6 separate regions of the Homo sapiens genome follow, and regions 2, 3, 4, 5 and 6 are each linked to region 1. Evidence: promoter capture Hi-C in 16 types of primary human blood cells and fetal thymus (Javierre and others, 2016). All regions are on one chromosome and are shown on one strand. The core of a region is centred on a gene start or on the middle of the fragment in contact, and the rest is flanking DNA. Distances in the headings are between cores, read along the strand shown.

Region 1 (3,868 bases), core at 183-2,682:
CCCAGGCTGGAGTGCAGTGGCACGATCTTGGCTTACTGCAATCTCTGCCTCCCGGGTTCAAGCGATTCTCCTGCCTCAGCCTCTCAAGTAGCTGGGATTACAGGCATGCACCACGACACCTGGCTAATTTTTTGTATTTTTAGTAGAGAGGGGGTTTCACCATGTTGGCCAGGTTGGTCTCGAACTCCTGACCTCAAGTGATCCGCCCGCCTTGGCCTCCCAAAGTGCTGGGATTACAGGCGTAAGCCCGGCCTGTACTGTGAATTTTTGAAATGAACCTAATTCCTACTTTACAGCAGAGCTTTTCTTTCTTTCTTTTTCTTTCTTTCTTTCCTTTCTTTCTTCCTTTCTCTCTCTCTTTCTTCTTTTTTTTTTTTCTGAGACAGGGTCTGGCTCTGTCATCCAGGCTGGAGTGCAGTGGCGTGATTTCGGCTCACTGCAACCTCCATCTTCTGGGTTCAAGTGGTTCTCATGCCTCAGCTTCCCGAGCAGCTGGGATTACAGGTGCCCACCACAACACCCATCGATTTTTTGTATTTTTAGTGGAGACAGGGTTTCACCATGTTGGTAAGGCTGATCTAGAACTCTTGACCTCAGGTGATCCACCCACCCCGGCCTCCCAAAGTACTGGGATTACAGGCTTGAGCCACCGCACCCGGCCTACAGCAGAGCTTTTCATATGAATTGTGTGGCTTAATTTTTTTTTCTTTGGAAGTTAAATTGCAAATGCTTTATCTGTGGGTTCAGCTTTTTGTATTCTTAATTCTTCAGCGGGCCGGGGGCAGGGGGCGGCGATAGAGGCGGCTCTTACAGGGTACTCATTCTTTGGCTCCGCCTTAGATCTGGCTAAGGGGATAGAAAACGACCCTGCCTCGCTTTGTTTAAAAACGCAGAGTTCTAGCATGGTGTTTCCCCCCCCCCTTCTCTTCTTAAGCTTACCAAGTTCCAGATACCGCCCAGATGAATTTTTTTTTTATCACAGCTGTCATTCTCATTTCTACAGGCATGAAAAGTGCGACTCAAGTTCAGTGTCTTGCCTCGGGTAGCTTGGGGATTCCCAGTCAGCTCCTCGCGCCTTCGTCGCCGCTCCCCTTCCACCCCGCGCCTTCGCCGGCCGTCCCCTGCTCCATCCAGGCCACGGGGGTGACGGTGGGGTCTGGGGCATTCAGGCCTGGCTGGGCATGAGGGCTTCAGGCCCAATTCCACGCCCGAACTCGTCCTGATTAGTCTGGCTTTTCTGGTCGCCCCAGCCCTGCGGTCGGGGAGAGCTGGAAACCACCGAGCTGACAGCCTAGAGCGTCGCTCCCCGGCCGCCGAGCGCTGACGCCGCGCCGGGGGCGGGGCAGCTGGAGGCGGCAGGGAGAGGAGCGAGCAGCCGGGAAGGGCTGGCCGGCTTCGCAGCGCCCCGCCGTGGCTGCGGCCGGAAGCGGTCTCGTTGGCCCTGCGGCGCTGGAGCCTTGACGCACGGAGCTCGAGAGCGAGAACGGGAGAGAAAGGGGTAGAAATGGCGGCTCCGCTCGGCTCCCGCTGAGGAGGGCGAAGCCGGCGGAGTGTCTGTGCTGCCGGTCTGCAGCACCGCCCCCGCTTCCCGCACGCCGCCTGCTCACGCCGACTTCCCTTCCTCTGCCCGGCTCTCTCTTGTGCTCGTCTGCGCTCCGCACGCTCCGGGCCGGCTCGTCTCTCATTGCCCGGCTCGGCTCCGCTGGCCCTGACTGACCGGCCGGCGGGCCGGCCTTGCTCGGCTCTCCCGGGCGCGGCGTGGACTCCGTCCCCCTGGCTGGACCATGGTGAACACCCGGAAGAGCTCTCTCCGCCTTCTCGGGTCCAAGTCTCCTGGTCCCGGGCCTGGGCCTGGGGCCGGAGCAGAGCCTGGGGCGACCGGAGGCAGCAGCCATTTCATCTCCTCTCGGACCCGCTCCTCCAAGACCCGCGCCGCCAGCTGCCCCGCCGCCAAAGCCGGGGGAAGCGGTGGCGCCGGCGTCACTCTGGATGAGGCCAGGGTAAGAGCGCGGCGTCCCGAGTCCGGAGGCTCGGAAGTGCCGGCCCTGCTGCCGGGGCTTTGTCTGGCCGGGTTGGGGGTAGGAAGCCTACAGTGGAGACCGCTCGGGCGGCTGGAGACAGGGTCTGCGGGCGCGGTGGAGGGTGGCACCCAGAGAAGGGCCGCGACGCTGGCCCCTTTGCTTTTCAAGCTGGCCCGGCTCTTTTGTGTGAAGAACAGCCCTTGAGTCCAGGGGAGAGGGCTTTGGGGGTCCCTTTCGGCGTCATTCGAACGATCTGCTGTCCGTGTCCTTGTCCTGCCCCAGAGGGGAATTCTAGCGGGGAAGCAAGAGCGAAGGGCCAGAGCCCCTGGGTGGAAGGGTTGGAGAAGTGAAAGTTTTCTGCGGTGTCAAACCCTTCTTGAAAGTGTGTCAGTTCCTGCCGCTGTCTAACTCCAGCTTACTCTCAGTTTGGGGGTGGTTCAAGTTGGTGAGGAAGTGAACAGAGAGCTCCAGTTGGCAGCCAGGCAGGGATGCTGAAAAAAGTTTGTAGCTGCTCTGACACCAACTTTAAAAACAAAATCAACGCTATCGCCTCTCCAGGCAGGAGAGATCAAACATGATATTATAGCTGGGGAACCAGCCAGCTAGCTCACCAAGGTGCTAGTAGGAACCAGAGCTTTCAGGTCACAGAAGGAGCACGTCGAAAGAAACAAGTGGAATGTTTCGGATAGTCAGCACCATCATGCCAAAACTGTGTGGTTTCTTGGGTGTCTACATTTTTGTTATGGGACTATATTACAAAAGGTGAATGAACACCATAGTCATGCAGTTGCAAAAATGACATTTAAAGACGCTGGTGATTGAATTAAAAAACTGATTGAAAGATCTTGAAATTTTATTACCTACATTATAAAGCTAAGCACAGATATTTATTGTTTTAAAGGAATTGACACGTTTGTTTTACTATGAGATTGTTTCTGAATTCAGAGAAGAGTGTATTGCTTCTGTCTAAAAGAGGTTGACTTGCTAAGTAATTTGGCTGGAAAAAGCTGTTCATTTAAAATGCTCCTTTAATTCCACACCATTTTGTGGTTCTTATTGGGGGAAAGCAATATTTTATGTTCTAGGGGTCTACAAGATCGCGGTTTGTGTGTGCTTTTCTTTGTGTCTTACACTGTTTTGACACTAACAGAATGGATCTAGGCAGAGACAGGAATATTTTACCATACTACTCTGAAATATTTTTATTATATCTTTGAAAATCGTTTTGGCTTTTCTTTGATAAAATTTTGGGCATTATAACGTCCTATTTAATAGACTATTTTGGGGGCTTACAGCTCTCTTAGGTTGAAATAAGGTTAAATCTGAAAGTTGTGCAAACTGTTGAGAATAAGTACTTTGAAGACGAGGCTTTCGGTGGAAACTATTCCAAACATGTTCAAGCTTCTTGACCTACTGAGGCTATCACATATTTTAAAATAAAACTCAATTTAAGAAAAGATCTTTTCTGTACATTTAAGGACAAAGAAAATATTTAGGGTGTAAGCATTTAATCGTATCATGCTATGTGAATGCCTAGTCTGTTAGAGCAGTGTCTAACTCATCTGAAGCAATTAGCTCATCTTCACTCATCAGTTTGTGGTCCCATTTTTGAATTCATGGATATCATGCTGTCCTCACCCCCCGAGGAATAAGGTGAGGTAATTTGTCAAGCAGCTGTTATAGAGATGTTAAAAGGCTAGGAATCAATAATCTAATGAGGAAATGAACATTTGGTAGCTTTTAAATTGCTAAAAGAATGAAAGATATGAGAGCTCTTTGTAGAAGGGTACTAATGAAACTTTGTTTCAAAGATCCTTTTAAAATGTTTTAAAGCACCATAAATAACA
Region 2 (4,035 bases), core at 1,305-3,804, 3.7 Mb before region 1:
CTTTGGGAGGCCACGCTGGGAGGACTGCCTGAGCCCACGAGTTCAAAACCAGCCTGGGCAGCATGGCGAGACCCCACCTCTAAAAATAAATTAATTAATTTTTTTAAAAAGAAATGATTAACACTATCAGGCAAATCAAATAATTTTCTTTTAAACAATTAATATGAAAATGGGCCAGGCACAGTGGCTCATGCCTGTATTCCCAGCACTTTGGGAGGCCAAGGCGGGCAGATCACTTGAGGTCAGGAGTTTGAGACCAGCCTGGCCAACAAGGTGAAACCCCGACTCTACTAAAAATACAAAATTAGCCAAGTGTGGTGACTACTCAGGAAGCTGAGGCAGGAGAATCACCTGAACCCAGTAGGCGGAAATTGCAGTACGGTGAGATTGTGCCACTGTACTCCAGCCTGGGTGACAGAGCAAGACTCCGTCTCGAAAAAATATAAATAAATAAATAAATAAATAATTAATATGAAAATGAAATAATGCTGTCAATCTTCAGATTTCTATTTGGATCACAATTTCTTGCATCCACCAAAAAGGGACATCCCTTGTCATATCAGAAAAGACAAATGTTGGTGATGGCATTTGTGTACCCTCAAAATTAAATTCTCTCAGCTTTAATAACTGTCAGCCTTGCTCCTCAGTCTTAATGCACTAATCTAGTGAGGCATGCCCTTCCTCTGCTAATGGTGCCACATTTGGGGCAAACCAGTGCATTTTATTTTTTTGAGACAGGGTCTCACTCTGTTGCCCAGCCTGGAGTACAGTGACATCATCACAGCTCACTCCAACCTTGGCCTCCCAGGCTCAAGCAATCCTTCCACCTCTGCCTCCCAGGTAGCGGGGATTACAGGCACACACCACCATCCCTGGCTAATTTTTTGTATATTTTGTAGAGATGGGGTTTCACCATGGTGCCCAGGCTGGTCTCAAACTCCTGGGCTCAGGCGATCCTCCCACCACAGCCTCCCCAAGTGCTGGGATTATAGGCATGAGCCACCATGCCTGGCCACCTGTGCATTTTACAATTATGGATAAATCTTCTTATTCATGGTATCTCCTCATGTTACAATTTCACTCTACCAGCATCATTTAGGCCAGAGGACTCTATTCTTCTCTCTCTCTCTCGTTGCCCCAGGCTCTTGTTGCCCCAAGCCGGAGTGCAGTGGCACAATCATGGCTCACTACAGCCTCAACCACCTGAGCTCAAGCAATCCTCCCACGTCAGCCTCCCAAGTAGCTGGGACTACAAGGGCGTGCCACCACGCTGGCTAATTTTAAAACATTTTTTGTAGAGACAGAGTCTTGCTATGTTCCCCAGCCTGGTTTCAAACTCCCAAGCTCAAACGATCCTCCCACCTTGGCCTCCCAAGTGTAGGGATGACAGACCCAGCCCAGAGGACTTTATCTTTAAACTTGGATTTTATCCAACTGGGAACAACTATCAGACAGTTCATATTCATACATCACCTTTTTGTAACAACAAGGGAGGAAGATCAGAGGGTATTGAGAGAGAATGCCAACAGCACATGTGCCTCTTTTCTCCTCTGACCTTCCCCAGCTCACAGCCACTCAACTGAACAGCAAATCTGAATGAGCACAAATCCAGGGGTAAGCAACCAGATTCAAAAAAAAAAAAAAAAGAGGAAGAAGAAGAGAAAAAGGCCTTATACCTTGATGGAACACTTTCCCCACCAACAATCAATTACCTGCAGGCATAGAGCATGTTGGACATGAAGGTCACTGGGTTGGTACTTCTCGATGTGTCCATTACATAGATGACAACTGTTGGAAATGAGGATGCCTAAAGCCACAAAAAAATCAAAGCCTTGGTCAGAGGGCTCACGATCTGTCCTCAAACTCTTTTTCCACCATCCTTAACAAGGGAAAACCACTTTAGGCAGGGTGTGCAGAGCTTCTACAACTTCCTCCCATATAAAGTCCAAGGCAATTAAAAATAAATGCTCATCCAGTCTAGCCCCTCTAGCTACTCTCAGTAGCAAGTCCTAGAATACTCACAAGGGCTTCAGTGATAATTGTCCCAGAAGCTGACCAGGTGAATACCTCAATCTGTCCAGGTGTGTCAATCAACACATATCTATGTCAAGAAAGATCATTAAAGAAGTGTTACATTTGTGTTATGCTGAAGGATATTCCATCATATAAGACAATAAACATCTGGTTATCCAAGACTGGAGTAACCTCTGCACACTGCCAAATCTAACTTCCTCCTACTGGCCCTAAACTGCACATGATGATCCCCTAGACTTTGTTCAATGACCAATATTCACGCCAATGGGCAGGAACAGCAGACCATGAGTTGCTGCAAATGATCACAGGGGAAACTTTTATAGAAACACAATGCATTTAAAATGAAAGACACAAAACCAGAATGTAAATCTCTTGGGAAACATCTGGTTGCTTAGGGCGGGGGTGAGTGTGGAACAGAGGAAGAAGAATGGGAGGAATGGGAAAGTGCTAGCTGAAGAATATCAGGTTACTTCTTGAGATGATGAAAATATTCTAAAATTGACTGTGGTGATAGTTGTACAATTCTGTGAATATACTAAAAGCCACTGAATTGTATACCTTAAATGGGTGAATTGTATGGTATGTGAATTATCTCAATAAAGCTGTTTTTATGAACTATATCAACTTTTTTGTGAATTAATTTGATATAATTATGAATTATATCAGAATTTTTTTAATTGGCAAAGAATTCTAATAGACATTTCTCTAAATATATACATACCAATGGCCAATAAGTACATTAAAAAGATGTTCAATATCATTAGTTATTAAGAAAATAAAAGTAAAAACCACAATGAGATACCACTCTATATCCACTAGAATGGCTATAATCAAAAACAAGAAGAATAACAAAAGTTGGCAAGGTTATGGAGGAACTGGTTGTGGAGAAATCATATTGCCAATGGGAATGGAAAATGGGGTAGTCACTAGGGGCTAAAGGGAACAGAAAATAAGGAGTGATTGGTAATGAGTATGGGGTTTCTTTTCAGGATGACAAAAATATTCTGAAGATAGTAATTATCAACACACGACTCTGTGGACAGACTAAAACAACCATACACTTTAAACGAGTGAACTTTATGGTATATGAATTATATCTTAATAAAGCTGTCATTAAAAAAAAAAAAATACCTCCAGGCCAGGCTCAGTGGCTCACACCTATAGTTCCAGCACTTTGGGAGGTTAAGCCGGGCAGATCACTTGAGGTTAGGAGTTTGAGACCAGTCTGGCCAACATGGTGAAACCCCATCTCTACTAAAAATACAAAAATTAGTCAGGCATGGTAGCAGGCCACCTGTAATCCCAGCTACTCAGGAGGCTGAGGCAGGAGAATCGCTTGAACCCGGGATGCAAAGATTGCAGTGAGCCAAGATCACACCACTGCACTCCAGCCTAGGCAATAGAGCGAGACTCCATCCCAAAAATACAAAAATACAAAAATTAGCCAGGTGTGGTGGCTCACACCTGTAGTCCCAGCTACTTGGGAGGCTGAGGTGGGAGGATCACCTGAGCCAGGGAGGTGGAAGTTACAGTGAGCTGAGATCACTACACTGTACTCCAGCCTGGGCGACAGAGCAAGACCCTGTCTCAAAACAAAACAAAAGCTACCTCTAGTACCCCATTTTTGTAAAAGCACTTTTATCCATTCATCCTTCTATCTGTGTATATAGAAATGTGGAATGCTAGTCGCTGAATGATGATGTTACTTCTAGTGGGAATCGGGGTGATGGTTTCATCTTATAAATATCATGCATGGTTTGAATTTTTATAAAACAATAAATTATCTTTTTTAAAAAAAGTAAACCTTGAACAACAGCTAACTGGGTAATGGCCATAAGAACAAATATTTCCTATTCTGACACTCTGTAAATTAAAAAATTTTCTCTGAACCATGTAGACTATATTCATTTAAATAAGAATTAGAAAGGTATTTCAGATACTTTAATGACAACAAGCATGGTTTCCCAAGAGAAGGCAGGTGGACAACTGAATTGGGACAAA
Region 3 (4,108 bases), core at 760-3,259, 5.0 Mb before region 1:
CATTTAAAGAATTTGATTCATTGGACACAGATGAAATGCAGTCTAACAAAAAAAGGTAACCTACTTACAGAAAAAAATAATACACATCTTGCAAGTCCTTAGAAATATATCTTGCAAGTCCTTAGAAATGTACTAATAAACACAAAAGAGAAGTTACAATTAAAAGCCAAAGTACAAAGTCTGATGGTCTCATTTAACTTGTTGAAACATTGAAACCTCAATTTTAGGAGTGTTCTAGGTCCCCGTTTCAGTTACATGAATTTCTAAAGCTACCTTTGAATGATTCCAGGGGCAAAAATAATTTCTGTATAAGGTTATAAATACAAACACCTATTTCAGGCAAGGAGAGTTGGGGGAAGTACATTAACCTAGTACCATCTCAGCAGGAAAAGATTCATCTTTTTAAAAAGATTCCAAGAAGGCTGAGTGTGGTGGCTCACGCCTGTAATCCCAGCACTTTGGGAGGCTGAGGCAGGTGGATCACGAGGTCAGGAGTTCAAGACCAGCCTGGCCAACATGGTGAAACCCCGTCTCTACTAAAAATACAAAAAAAATTAGCCGGGCGTGGTGGTGGGCGCTAGTAATCCCAACTACTCAGGTGGCAGAGAATTGCTTGAACCCGGGAGGCAGAGGTTGCAGTGAGCCGAGATCCTGCCACTACACTCCAGCCTGGGCGACAGAGACTCATCTCAAACAAAACAAAACGAAAAAAAGATTCCATGAAATCTTTCTTCTACTCTTGGTTTTCCCAAATAAAAACTATCTAAATGGAAGTTTCTCGATGTGTGAAACAAAGACAGGTCCAAATATGCGTATGCTTTATTGCCAATTTGAATTTCCATTAAAAAGCACAAAGAAATTTTAGAAATTTACATAGCCTATGTCAAGCATAACATAGTCAAAGCCTTAATTTCTGCATCTGCAAATCTCTGTATTTTTTGGTAGAAGCAAGCAGGGGCAGGCGGAAGGAATATCTACAGCATTTATGACCAACTTTAAGGATAACTGGTCTAAACCTAAATATTACTCCAATTTATTGAACTTAAAGAACTCAGGACTCATTTATTTTTCAGGTTGGATGGTCTTTATTCAGCAGGATAAGCATATTTAAAAAGGTAACACATCAGACCAGAAGTGTATATAACCAATGTACATTTTAATGAAAACTGATACTCCAAGTATTACCCATACTAAATATTTTTCAAACCAAGAGTTTAGTGCTACTGATTATAGATGAGAAACTTCTGTTGGCATTTACTATCTAAACATGTTATTCCTGTGATCAAAAAAACTTCAATGACTCTCCAGAGAATAAATCAATATAAACAGTTCTATGGCATTTAAAAGCATCCACAATTTGCCTTCAACCCACCTTCTCTAGTCTTATCTCCAATTCCATCCTTAGGTTAACACTCCCTATACACCCATTTTCCTATTTTGCTTTTGCTTTTCCTTCACTTGGAAGGGGACCTTTCCTACTCACCTCAATTTTCATTGGTTAAAAATCCTATCCATGCTTTAAGGCCCACCTCAAATACCACCTCCTCCACGGAAACTTCTTTCCCTTAAGACACATGTCATACCCTGCATTAGACACGGCAAATATGAAATGTATTTCTTCTTTTACACTTTAGTCACAGTCAGTTGTGTTTCCTCTTAAGTGCCCAGCACAGATTATACAGATAAATATATTAAGTAATAAAAAGGTAGGCTAAAAAATTTAGTTTATATATTTGTAACTGGAAAATCTCAATTCCTGAAGGCATCAGAAGTGAATACCCCAAGGAGGTGATTTCTCGGACTAAGGAGTCTTTTCCACCATGAAGGGCAAACTGAGTTAAGCAACGAATACTGAAACCTGTCTTATGAGAAAAGCTTATCAGCATTTGATCCATCATCAGCATTTGATCCAGAAACAATCAGAAGGCTGAGGGAGAATCTGAATGGCACATGTGCATAATTTATAAAAGCAAGGAGTTGTACAGATGGGATGAAGACAGAAAAAAGCACATTCAGGTGATGAGAAGTCTGAATTTGTACAGCAATTAAAGTAATGACTTTTTAGACTAAAATCCCAGAAAAAGAGGAGTTTTACATGCAGTCACTACACTCTCATAAAAATACACATATAGAAACAAGCTTCACAGAGAAACTTCCCACGGCTAGTAGTACTCTGATACTTTCCATTCTATTTTGTTTTTTTTTTAATGTTACAATCCACTAAGTTTATTACATAATCCACTAATGGATCAAAATCTGCTCTGAGAAATACTGAACTCTAGACACCAAAAAGTATGCCAAGTTTCAAGTTTCATTCTGCAATTAGTCTCCTAATCCATTTCTTCATCTATCTCACTGCCACTGCATGTGTGTTTCACAGATAACAGTGAACAAAATGTATTCATTTTACAAAAAATCACATACAGTATTTATAACAAATCAATTAAGTCCTAATACACAGAAACTTCTATTTCTGCCAATCAGATCTATCTGCAACCTTTACTTCTTAGGAAGTTTAACTGTTAGCAAGACCTCAAGACAGACCACTGCACAGCACATGTGAACTGCCCTACATCTCTAAGGGATGGTAATGCAGATACCCAACTCAGACACCCTGTCCAATGTCTGAAATGCCATGTGCTTCATTCAACAAGTACTAAGCTGTATAGGGTCATCTTAATTGCAGTGACAGCAAAGCAGTATAAACACATTTACTGTGATAGCCAATAGCAGACAAGGTCTGTTAGAGAAGGAAAAGCAGAAAAGTCGGAAGACTTTCAAAAGTTTGAAGACAATCAAATAGCAGCATCAGTTCCTAGGTGGCTCAGTCACTTTACTATGTGGCTTTGGTAGAGAATATAATTAACATTTCTGCCTCAGTTTACACACATAAACTTGAGGAACTCTTAAAAACAGCATCCATCTAGATAGAGTCCCTCCATTTGTATTTTTGCACTTTCCTATCTTCTTGTCCTCATTAAAGGTCCTCTTCCCCCAGGCTCCAAAGACCAAATGGAATGCTCAGCTACATAACGTACAAAAACCCTCTAAAAACTATTGTGGCACGAATGCAAAGTATTGTAATCATTCTGTGACCAACAAGAGGTGACAATCTAATTTTTCTAAACACCTGTGAACCACAAACTTAACCCGTTACCCAAGAAACCCAGCACTAACTAATCTTTCTCCATTGATGAGTTATCATCACCACACTTTGTCCTTGCGTAGCAAACTGCCAATTACTAAACCAAACATAGAATACTTTTCTTACAAATTGATTTACCATATTAAATGCCAAATTAAATGGTAAAACGAGTCCAGATTCACTCAATAATAACATTTATTAAGCCACTTATTACATACTAGGCCATACTACACCAGTCACATACATTGCCTAATTTGATCCTGAGGATCCTAAAAGGTGGGTGATGATACCTCTATTTCAAATTTGAGAGTACTATATGTCATCATATAGCAGGACCTTAACAAAATGCTGGAAAGTGGGTTCAGAGCAACATCCTTTTCATGCCTCATACACTAAGCCTCAAAGATGTAAAATAAAAGGAAGGGTTTAATAAGATGAGAGCACCTTAACATGTGCCTTTTTTTTCTAAGATATCTTGTTACAGTACATATGACTTTTTAATTTTATACCATAATATATGTGCAAGTTTGTTTTAATACAAGAAAACTGTCTCTCCTTAGTTTATAAGTCAAACTGATGCTCCAAGAGGACACACCCTCAAAGTAGGGAATGTCTCTACATTCCTTCCAGCTCTCTCAGTTCTGTGACTCAAGATTGAGAGTAACAAAATCGGGGCACTTGACCAGGAGTTCGGGGCACCATGACTCTAGAGGCCACACTCCTTTATTGGTTATTAAGGCTTGAGTCAAGTCATTTACCTTTCTTAGCTCTGATTTTCAATCAGTTTTTTTAAAATGCAATTAATTTCAGGGGATTCCATAGTCATGTGGTTAAAAGGAGACAGTGCAGATAAAACGATGCTGAAACCTAGAAAAAAATTTTGTTTAATGTAGCTCAACTCTCGTTTGTCAATGAGGTCCTCAAAATTAAAACAACTTGCTCAATATGACAAAGTAAGTTTTG
Region 4 (3,599 bases), core at 456-2,955, 3.7 Mb before region 1:
ACCTGCTCCATATGAAATGCTAAAACAAATGATTCCAGCTGAAGAAAAATAATACCAGAGAGAAACTTGGATTTTTAAGAATGAAGAAAGAGCAACAGAAATGGTAAACAGGCCGGGGTAGATGGCTCACACCTCTGTAATCTCAGCTACTTGGGAGGCTGAGGTGGGAGGATCACTTCAGCCCAGCAAGCAATGAATGTGCCACCAACTCCAGCCTGGGCAACAGAGCAAGACACTGTCTCTTAAAAAAACAAGAGTAGGGGCAGACACTAAGCATTCAAATAATCCAAAAGAAGAAACACAGGAACAAAAAACAATGGATAAACAGAGAACAAAAAATAAAAGGGCAGACCTATCCAACCATATCAATAATTAATTTAAATGTTTACAGTCTAAACACTCCAGTTAAAAGTCAGCAAATGACAGAGTAAAATAAAAAGTGATACCCTACTACATGCTACCTACAAGAAGCACACTCTAAAATATAAAGACATCTATAGATTGAAAATAAACAGATGAAAAAATTGTATCATACAATCAGCAAACATAAGGCTGGAATGACTATTTTAATATCAGATAAAACAGACTTCAAGACAAAGAGTACTGCCAGAGATAAAAAGAGACACTTCATAATGACAAAAGTGTCAAATCATTGGGAAGGCATAATTACCCACTGTATGTGCCTAATAATAGAGCCTCAAAATACACAAAGCGAAAACTGACAAAATTAAAGGGAAAAATAGACAATTCCACAATCTTAGCAGAAAATTTAAGACCTCCCCCTTTCAGCAACTGATAGAACTAGATAAAAATTCAGTAAAAGACATAAATGATCTGAACTGCACTATTAGCCACCTTGCTCTAGTTAACATTTACACAACACTACATCTAACAACTGCAGGATATATATTCTTTTCAAGTGCACATTATGCATTCATTAAGCTAGATCTTACGCTGGGCCATCAACTTTAACTTTTATTAAAAGGATGAGAATTACACAGTGTATTCTCTGACCACATTGGTATCAACTTAGGAGTCAATAATAGGAAGATATCTAAAAACAAAAAACACAAAAAATCCAAATATCTGCAAATTAAATAATCTACTTCTAAATAATTCATAGGTCCAAAATGAAATCACAAATGAAATTTGAAAATATTTTGCACTGAAAAACAACAAAAATATGCATATCAACATTTGTAGGATGCAACTAAAGCAATACTTAGAAACTTAAAGCTTTAAATGCTTATACTAGAAACGATCTAAAATCAATGACTTAAGATTTCATCTTAAGATACCTTAAAAGGAAAAGCAAAGTAAACCAAAGAAAAGGTAAGGTAAGAGGAGAAACCCATGAACTAGAAAACAGACAATAGGGGAAATGTGGTTCTTTGAAATGATCACAAAATTGACAACCCTGTAGCTAGACTTAGACTGATCTACAAAAAAAGACACTACAAATAGCCAATATCACAAATGAAAAAGGGGTTACCGCAGATTATGTAGACATTAAGTAATAATATACTTTGAATAACTTTATGCTAATCAATGGAAAAATTACAATGAACAAATTTCTTTAAAAATACTACTTACCAAAACTGACACAAGAAGAAACTGGAAATCTAAGTAGCCCTATATCTATTAAATAAACTGAATTTATGAAATCCTTCCCACAGTGAAAACTACAGGCCCATGTAGTTTCACTGCTGAATGCCATTGCAATAGGTTTAAAACAAGATCAAAAGGAAAAAAGCAAAACTGTCCCTACTTGCAGATTATATGATTGTTTACAAAATAAATCCCAAGGAATCTACAAAACAATTACTAGAACTAATAAATTAATTTATAAAGTGTCAGGATACAAGGATAACATACAAAGTCAACTGAATACTTATATACTAGCAACAATCAACTAGAAAATGACATTATAAAAATAATACCATTTACAATTACATCAGTAAAACATAATATACCTGGGAACAAACCTAACAAAAGACGTTCCAGACTTTTAAAAACAATGAAACTACAACACATTGCTGAGAGTAATTAAGAAGACTTAAAGGGGAAAATATAGCATGTTCATAAATCAGAAAACTCAATATTGTTAAAATAGCAATTTTCCCCAACGGAATCTATAGATTCAATATAATACCAATCAATACTCAGCAAGCTTCTTTTAATAGATATTGGCAACCCAATTCTATACTTCTTATAAAAACGCAAAGAACTGAGAATAACCAAAACAATTTTGAAAAAGAACACTAAAGTTAGAGGACTTACTGATTTCAAGAGTCTAAATAAACATCAGTAGAACAGAATAAGGAGAGTCCAGAAACAGACCTACACATATACATGTCCAAGTGAAGTTTGACAAAGATGCCAAGGCAATTCAGTAGGGAAAGAAAACTCTTTCCAACAACTGGGTATATAAATAGAAAAAAAAGTCAACATTGACCCTTACCATAAAACATTCACAGAAATTAACTCTAAATGAGTCACAGACCTAAATATAAAACCTATAAAACTTCTAGGAGAAAAGACCACAGAAAATCTCTGCAATTAGGGAGGCAAAAGTTTCTTTTTTTTAATTATTATTATTTCTTAAGACGGAATCTCGCTCTGTCGCCCAGGCTGGAGTGCAGTGGCACCACCTTGACTCGCTACGACCTCCAGGGAGGCAAAGGTTTCTTAAATAGGATACATAAAAGCATGAAATGTAAGAAAAAAATGATAAATTTAAACCTTTTGCTCTTCAAAAGACATCATTAAGAAAATGAAAGACAAACCAGACTGGAAGGAAGTATAACAGACAAACGAGTTGTATTCAGGACAGATTTTTTTAAATACCACAATTCAATAAGATAACCCACTTTTTTTAATGGACAAAAATGTAAACATTTTACAAAAGTAGACACACAAATGGCCAATAAGAATAGGAACAGATGAAGGCTGGGCGCGGTGGCTCACACCGTTAATCCCAGCACTTTGGGAGGCAAAGGTGGGCAGATCACCTGAGGTTGGGAGTTCGAGACCAGCCTGACCAACATGGAGAAACCCCGTCTCTACTAAAAATATAAAATTAGCCAGGCGTGGCGGCACATGCCTGTAATCCCAGCTACTCCGGAGGGTGAGCAGAAGAATAGCTTGAATCTGGGAGGCGGAGGTTGCAGTGAGCCGAGATTGCACCATTGCACTCCAGCCTGGGCAACAAGAGTGAAACTCTGTCTCAAAAAAAATAAAATAAAAAAGAATATGAACAGATGCAAAAAAAAAAAGATCAAAAAAAGAAAGAATACGAACAGATGCTCAACATTATTATTCATATATGATGAATTAAAAACCACAAATTAGGCCAGGTGTGGTGGCTCAAGCATGTAATCCCAGCACTTTGGGAGGCCAAGGTGGGCAGAACACTTAAGGTCAGGAGTTCGAGACCAGCCTGGCCAACATGGTGAAATCCCATCTCTACTAAAAATACCAAAATTAGTCAGGCGTGGTGATGCACACCGGTAATCCCAGCTACTCAGGAGGCTAAGGCAGAAGAATCAGTTAAACCTGGGAGGCAAAGGGTTCGGTGAGCCAGGATCAGGCCACTGCAC
Region 5 (3,626 bases), core at 797-3,296, 3.6 Mb after region 1:
AGCCCTGTAAGTCAGTCCGCGTTCGCTCTTTCTCCGGTCCTTTGGCGCCGTCGAGGATGGCTCCCCAGGCTTTGTGCGGCGGCCTCGGCGGGAGCCGATCGCCAGCGGGAGGGCGGATAGGGCCTGCTGAGTGCCCGGGCCGGTGCGGCCTGGGGCCCGCTCGCACAATGCAGGGGGAGGGGTGCCGGAAGGGGGTGTGCGCGTGCGGGGGAGGGGGCGCCGCGCCGGCCGCTTTCCCGCTTCCTTCCCTCTGCGGGGCCGCCGCCTCGGGGGCGTGGGGCGCCGACCCGGTTCTCCCTCCGATTCGGCGCGCTGGAGGTTAGAGACCGAGCTGTCGGCCCTAGGGTTCGGAAAGAGGGGAGAGGCCGGGTGGCCCCAGAGAAGCATGCGGATTGCAAGTGGGTGAAGAGGAAGGAGTGGGTTTATGAAAACAAGTGTGGGCATTTTCAAAGGCCCGAGTGTGTCCGGGAAAAGCTTGCCGTGGACAGATGTGGGTATGAAGCAGTGACTTGGATTCGCCTTGTTTAGGTTATAGGAACGGATTTCGATATTCAGAAAAATATGTAAATTAAAACCAAAGACAAGATTAGCGGCTTCTACTATTTGAGCAGTAGTTTTGTATCTGAATTGGGTCAGGTTTTGGGGAAAATGTTTAAAGTTTCATGCCCAAACACGTGTAAAAGTTAGTGTTGTTTCTGAAAACACAGCCAGAGAAAACCTACTTAACTTAGCTTTTTATTCTAACATACGTAAACTTTTGAAGAGAGGAATGTATTGCCAGCATATTAGGTGCAATAAGACATCATGTTAGGACTTAGTACTTTGAGATTTTTACTTGTTGAGAAAACGGGGCAGATGTTTTGGTGAAGGAAAACATGAGAAAAATGCTTGTAAACGGTGAAGAGAAATGTAATACCTGTAAAGGTACTGTATGTCAAGAAAACAATTTTAATAAAGGGAGTTACCGAAGGATTTTAAAAGCTTGTTTAATGGTTAGATTTCGTGTTTAACAGGTGACTCTTCACCATGTGACCTGGAGTATTGGAAGATGACTTAAGGAATCCTGTAAATAAAAAAAAAAAAACAAAAATGAGTATTTTCAACTTGTTTCTCTTCCTAGCCTCCTTTTAAACAATGATTTACTTCATTTGCTCAATCATTATGAATAAAAATGATGGCATTTTCCGTGCTGCAAGAATTTCTTTAAAATTCCGATTTTTGGTGAAATTGCATTGTGTAGAATTTTCTTGGTGTGCATGAGGGCAGTTTTTGTATGCAGAAAAGGTTTACGATAATCTTAAAAATAAAATTTTATTTCAGAAACCTGGTTCTTGAGGATTTAAGTCCAGTTTTTAAATTTTGTTTACAGGTCTAGCTATTTTGAGTTATAATTGCCAGTAACTTACGCATTTTCCAGCAATTTAAGCTGTGTTTAACACATGCTTTCCTTAATTTGAGTCCAAAGTTCTCTTAGGTGTTTCAGCATTTAGCAAGATTTCAACTTTTTAAAAGAGCCTAAATTAATTACTGACATTTACTTTGCTCTTACAAAGCTGTCACTTTAGAATAAATTCTCAGGCATTACAAATACTGTATATAAATTACCAAATAATACTTGGATTTTGTTTCTCTCAAGCATTCCATACTTGTTTATGAATCTTTTTTTCTTGTTTGAGACAGGGTCTGGTTCTGTCGCCCAGACTGCAGTGCAGGTGGTGAGATCTGGGCTCACTGCAGCCTCCGCGTCCCGGGCTGCAACTGTTCTTCCACCTGAGCCTTCCGAGTAACTGTAGCTGGGGGTACAGGCGCACGCCACCACGCCCGGCTAATTTTTGCATTTTTTGTAGAGACAGGGTCTCACTGTGTTTCCTGGGCTGAACTCCGATCTCAAGCGATCCTCCCGCCTCGCCCTCCCAGAGTGCCGGGATTACAGGCGTGAGCCACCACACCCGGCTTGTTTATAAACCTTTCTGGTGTGGAAAGATAATTTGCCTTCCGGAGTAGGTACTTATCTTAGTTAACAAAAGTAATTATGACCAGAGATTTGGGCCAGGTGTGAAATCCACAGCCAATTTTCTCAGTGACCAAGCTGTCTCCTTTTTATAGACCCTAACATGATCTGCATAGTTTTAAGTGGAGGTTGATTCCTGTCTCCTAAACTCAAGTTCTACATACGTCCTAACTTAAATACCTTGTTGGGTTTCCAGGATATGGAAATACTTGTATTTTTTCATATTCTTAAAATTTACAGATATTTAAAATATCCGAATATTTGAGTCTCACATGGCTTTGTCTACATGGCTGCAATCACAGCTTGAGACCATTTTACTAACAGGTGTGATTAAGATAAAAATTACACTTATAGCCAGGTAAATTGGTCTGTGGCATATTAAGATTTCTTGCTTTTTTTCTTTATTATTATTATTATTATTATTAATTTTTAATATAGGTGAGGTCTTGCTGTGTTGCCCAGGCTGGTCTCAAACTCCTGGGCTCAAGCAGTTCTCCCGCCTTGGCCTCCCAAAATGTTGGTATTAAAAGCATGAGCCCCGGTGCCAGACCCTTGCTGTTTTTAGGAAATGCATTAAAATAGTCTGACTTGTTCGTTTTGTCCTGCCTCCTCACTTCGCTTTGATGAGTTTGTAAGAGGGAACGCTGATGAAATATGGCAGAGCCCCTTCCTCGCTTTCTCTCTGGGAGTCTTCTCCCTGCAGAAAGCACTTAATTTGCCCTGCTTTTTCATGTGACTACCAAAGTTAGACTCCCCATTTCCAGAGGACAGTAGTTGTCCAGTGCTACTTGTGACTGGGTTAGAATAATTATGGAGTGTGTTTGGAAGCCCACTTGGCCTAGGTCTAAATTATGCCTCCACTGTGGTTTTATCAGTAGTAAAGGAAATCTTTGGATTAACACAAGTCCAACTACTGTGTCTTTCAGTCAGTTCGGAATTCTGTTGTGGAAAAAGGTTTCCTCAAACCCTATCATTTAGGAGCTAATATTTTAATAGTGATTTTTATATTTGGCAATATATATAGACAGGAGACAGTTTTTATTTAAAACTTAATTGCTTTTGTAGTTGAAAAAGTGGAAGTTTTCTATTTTCAAGCTTTTCCAGTGAGTGAAACGCTGTATAGAATTATTAGGTAGGTGCGTGATAAATGCTTTTTCTTTGAGTTTCATGTAGCATTATGTTTAGAGACATGTTAGTGTTTTTTTTCCTTAGTGACTTTTTCTTCAAATAACTCGAGAGTTATCTTTTTAAATGAAAAATCAAGACACGCCTAATTAAACACAAATATTAAAAGTTTTATTTGACCTTTGGCTGGTTCCTTTTTATGGTCTTAAGTGCTTTAGAGAATTTTTAAACAGATTGTTTATTTAAGCTGTTGGCAAAAGCATAGTTTCATTAGTAAGTTCCATTCTGCAAGTTTAGCTACTGGATCCCAACCATTTTCAGGTTGCGTATTGCATATTGTTGATTTTCACATCTTACTCTCTCACTGTTCTCTTGTGGAGGAATAAAAGATTTTAGAATAGAGTACTGGGAAATATCAAAATGTACACACCTTGTATGCATATCACTGTAGCTGGCAAGTGCAAAAAAAGAAGTAGCATGAAGTGTAAAA
Region 6 (3,561 bases), core at 640-3,139, 3.1 Mb before region 1:
ACTGGACCCAAGTGCTCACCCTGGTGTAGCAGAGCAGGATCCCAGCTCCAGCTCACTGCTCTCCCTGGTCCGGGGGGTAGGGGATGTGGGGCCTGAAGAGCCTTTCATCCCTCTGCGAGTCGGCGGTGAGCCCCGGCCCAACCTGGGCCTAGCCTGTGTGGACAGGGTTTGCGCTAAGAGGCTGGATTCTTCCATGAGTTTTTTGCTTTTAGTTTGCTTCTAGAGTTTCCATGCATAAGAGTGTTGTAGTATAGGGATCAGTAGAGGTACTGGGACATTGAATTCTAGCTGAGAGGGTGAGGCAAGATAATAGCCAGAGAAGTCCTGGATTCAGTCCATGACTATGCACTCCAAGTCTATAACTAGGGGTGGCAAACGGATCCAGCATTTAACCGCCATGGCTACACCATGACTAAGGTCTGGGTGAGTAGAGAAACACTGTGTAGAAAGATAGTGGAGGGTTGGTAGACCTCTCTCAGAGCCCTCTATGCTTTAGCCCCTGCCAGAGCAGTGTACACTTCACCCATCCAGTCAGCCTCTGCCTATACTCAGCTTTACCTAGCATGGGGATCTGGACTGAATCGGAGTTGGTGGCAGGGCTGTTCCTAGCAGCAGCAACCAAATGTGTTACCTGGGGAATCCGGGACCCCTCCTGGCGGAAACTCTCCTCGGACAGGTCTGGGCAGAAAGAGAGGAGAAGCTAAGGGCAGGGGCAGGGAAAGCCAAAGCTAGCAGGCTAAGGTTGGGGTATATCTGGCAGGGACACAGGTTGAAAGCAAGCAAATGACCTGGCTGATGGGGATGGTGGAGGGCAGGAAGGGGACTGGACAGACAGGCACTCAGGCACCAGAGAAGCTCTCTGATGTGGCCAAGGGTAGATGCAGTAAAGCAGTGCTGAGCATTTTCCCTCCCACTACCCAGAGGAACAGTGCCTTGCTGGGTTCTGCCAGAGTAGCTATGCTGGAGACCCAAAAATATTACCTGCAATCGAGTCTTGATGCAGGGCATCCGAGCTCCAGTCCCTAGCAGACCTTTCCCGATTACCATGACAGCCTCTGGTTTGTCTCCAGAGGACAAGAGTGAGCAACTGCTCCCTAGGGAACAGAGGAAACTGATCAGGGTAGGGGTCACAGAGAAGAGGAGGTAACTTCCAAAGGATCAGGGTTTCTTAACCTTGGCACGTTGACAATTTGGGTTGGATAATTCTTTATCGTGGGGAGTAGTCTTGTGCATTGTAGGATGTTTCGCAGCATCCCTAGCCTCTAAACAATTTATGCTGTTTCCTCATCTCCCCCCTCCTCAGTGTAACAACCAAAAATGTCTCCAGATGTTGCCTGATGTCACCTGGCAGCAAAATCACCCCTGGTTGAGGCTCTAGTCTGGTGGTCCAAGGGGTGGAGCAGCAACTCCAGGCTAGAATCGGAACGCACCCAAGCTTAACTCCTGTGTCAGTTTATACTGCCGCAATCATATGTTTAGCATTTGAGGATCAAGTCAGCTCTACCCAGGACTGGTGGGTTCAGTGCTACCCATTGAGGAGAGTTGACAGGTTGGGAGTAGGGGTCTTTGAATGAGGTAGAACATGTTGGACTAGAGTCTTAAAATCATTCCCATCCCTTTCTTTATATAGCTGGGTCTATAATTTAAAGGAGAAGAGATGGCTTTGTGTGAATGATACGGCTACACACAGCATTTAGCAGTGTTGACAGGAGAAAGTACCGTCATGCTTTTTTCATTCTCCTGTTTTGTCTAGTGTTGCCCAGCTCCTGGAGTCAGGGAATTTGCATAAGTAGCATTTTGCAGGTAGACAAAAGTCTTCAGGTTCCTCAACTGATAAAATGAGATTAAGTGTGTAGAGCAGTGCCTGGCACATAGTAAATGTTCAGTAAATGTTAACTATTGTTTTATTACACAGACACATTAATAAATTCCAGCTTCCTATACAAAGGCACCAGTGTTAGAGGTTTAGGATACCAAGAGGATAAGTGATGCCCCTGGTCTCCCAACTAGGCTTAAAGAACCTGGCCTGGCCATGGAGGAGGCTGGCAAACCCAGATTTCAGTGGCAGTGGGTACAGACCTGGTATGTTGAATGAATCAGGCAGTAGACAGGAGCCCAGCTTGTGTGAGGAGGCTGGGCCAGAACTAGTAGGAGCTGGGGATGGAGCGAGGCTGCCTGCAGGACGATGGTTCAGGGGCTGCTGCTGCCGTCTCCTGTCCTGGCTTCGGGGCTCTGAGTGGAAGAGATACAAGCAGATAAAAGGGCAAATAAGTGGGGCACTATGAGGCAGCCTTCACTGACCTGCTGGCTTCCGTGGTCAAAAGATGCCAGTTTTCAAGCTTGTCATCAGACCCACATCCCTCTCCTGAAGTAACTATTAATATAAGATGGGTAGAAAGACCTACTATTTATTACAGTTATCCATTCTCCACCAGCCTTCATCCTGCTAGTTTTTTTTTTTTTTTTTTTTTTTAAAGGTTTCCACTCTGTCATCCAGGCTGAAGAAGTGCACAATGGCACGATCATGGCTCACCGAGCCTCAGCCTCCTAGGCTCAGGTGATCCTCCCACCTAGCCTCCTGAGCAGCTGGCACTATAGGTGCCCGCCACCATGCTCAGCTAATTTTTTTTTTGTTTTGTTTTTGAGACAGAGTCTCGCTTTGTTGCCCAGGCTGGAGTGTGGTGGTGCGATCTTGGTTCACTGCAACCTCCGCCTCCCGGGTTCAAGCGATTCTCCTGCCTCAGGCTCCCGAGTAGCTGGGATTACAGGCGCATGCCACCATGCCTGGCTAATTTTTGTATTTTTAGTAGAGACAGGGTTTCACCATGTTGGTCAGGGTGGTCTCAAACCCCTGACCTTCTGATCCACCCGCCTTGGCTTCCCACAGTGCTGGGATTACAGATAGGTGTGAGCCACCGCGCCCAGCCTAAATTTTGTATTTTTAGTAGAGACGGGGTTTTGCCATGTTGCCCAGGCTGGTCTTGAACTCCTAGGCTCAAGAGATCCACCCACCTCCGCCTCCCAAAGTGTTGGGATTACAGGTGTGAGCCACCGCACCTGGCCAGTTTATTCTTTTGGCAAAGAAGTTACTGAGCTTGGCTAACACAGCTTTCCTTGGTTCCCCTCTTACCACTGATTGCTTCTCTTCCAGCTGTTCTTCCTGCCCCTTAAATGTCAAGTCTTCCCCACCATTCTGTCCTTGGGCCTCTCCTGCTCTACTTACTCTTAAACTCCCAAATCACTCTGTAGCCCTTTTCTCCTGAAATCCAGCTCTAATTGTCCACTGGAGATTTTTTTCCCAAGAAAGTCCCCTTGACAAAACAAAACTCATTCTCTCCCTTTCTTTCATTCTCCCTGTCTTCATGCAAAACCCAACTGCTAGAAACCTTGTTTCATCTTTCTACTATTCCTCTCTTAGATTTGCATTTGTGTAATCAAATCCTACAATTCTATCTCTGCATTCACCTGAGGTTTTTTTTTTTTTTTTTTTTGGAGACAGGGTCTCACTCTGTCACCTAGGCTGTAGTGCAGTGGCATGAACATGGCTCACTACAAACTTGA

Evidence for each region. Contacts are between HindIII fragments. The CHiCAGO score rates a contact against its expected background, and 5 or more counts as called.
Region 2: a contact is called between a fragment that was not itself captured here and the fragment with the promoter of ATAD2B in region 1, in 4 of 17 cell types (non-activated CD4 T cells, naive CD8 T cells, total CD8 T cells and 1 more). The highest score is 7.3, in non-activated CD4 T cells.
Region 3: a contact is called between a fragment that was not itself captured here and the fragment with the promoter of ATAD2B in region 1, in 1 of 17 cell types (non-activated CD4 T cells). The highest score is 8.7, in non-activated CD4 T cells.
Region 4: a contact is called between a fragment that was not itself captured here and the fragment with the promoter of ATAD2B in region 1, in 1 of 17 cell types (monocytes). The highest score is 5.3, in monocytes.
Region 5: a fragment that was not itself captured here is called in contact with the fragment with the promoter of ATAD2B in region 1 in 1 of 17 cell types (erythroblasts); the score reaches 6.1 in erythroblasts.
Region 6: a contact is called between a fragment that was not itself captured here and the fragment with the promoter of ATAD2B in region 1, in 1 of 17 cell types (neutrophils). The highest score is 6.0, in neutrophils.

What each region holds. Positions count from the first base shown.
Region 1 is chr2:23,924,687-23,928,554 of GRCh38, reverse strand. ATAD2B (ATPase family AAA domain containing 2B) reads left to right here and starts at 1,432. Exons shown (of 28, transcript NM_017552.4): 1 at 1,432-2,000. The coding sequence starts at 1,785. It also overlaps a transcript of UBXN2A not described here. RefSeq lists enhancers at 906-995, 582-1,498, 2,256-2,305, 1,499-2,417, 2,516-2,765 and silencers at 1,166-1,495, 1,696-1,775. The HindIII fragment of the contact is 2,488 bases long and covers 937-3,424 here.
Region 2 is chr2:27,632,912-27,636,946 of GRCh38, reverse strand. GPN1 (GPN-loop GTPase 1) reads right to left here. Exons shown (of 14, transcript NM_007266.4): 6 at 2,023-2,101; 7 at 1,713-1,807. Among named protein-coding and RNA genes, the nearest start is that of GPN1, 5.9 kb to the right of the region's middle. The HindIII fragment of the contact is 9,452 bases long and covers 1-4,035 here.
Region 3 is chr2:28,896,794-28,900,901 of GRCh38, reverse strand. The region is part of intron 1 of WDR43 (WD repeat domain 43); the gene reads right to left. Among named protein-coding and RNA genes, the nearest start is that of WDR43, 4.2 kb to the right of the region's middle. The HindIII fragment of the contact is 264 bases long and covers 1,878-2,141 here.
Region 4 is chr2:27,587,328-27,590,926 of GRCh38, reverse strand. All of the region lies in intron 2 of ZNF512 (zinc finger protein 512), which reads right to left. Among named protein-coding and RNA genes, the nearest start is that of ZNF512, 6.1 kb to the right of the region's middle. The HindIII fragment of the contact is 934 bases long and covers 1,239-2,172 here.
Region 5 is chr2:20,346,977-20,350,602 of GRCh38, reverse strand. It overlaps PUM2 (pumilio RNA binding family member 2), which reads left to right. Exons shown (of 21, transcript NM_015317.5): 1 at 1-6. Among named protein-coding and RNA genes, the nearest start is that of PUM2, 2.1 kb to the left of the region's middle. RefSeq lists an enhancer at 1-291 and a silencer at 1-376. The HindIII fragment of the contact is 2,125 bases long and covers 984-3,108 here.
Region 6 is chr2:27,066,165-27,069,725 of GRCh38, reverse strand. AGBL5 (AGBL carboxypeptidase 5) reads right to left here. Exons shown (of 15, transcript NM_021831.6): 12 at 2,080-2,232; 13 at 982-1,094; 14 at 20-153. Among named protein-coding and RNA genes, the nearest start is that of OST4, 3.7 kb to the left of the region's middle. The HindIII fragment of the contact is 904 bases long and covers 1,438-2,341 here.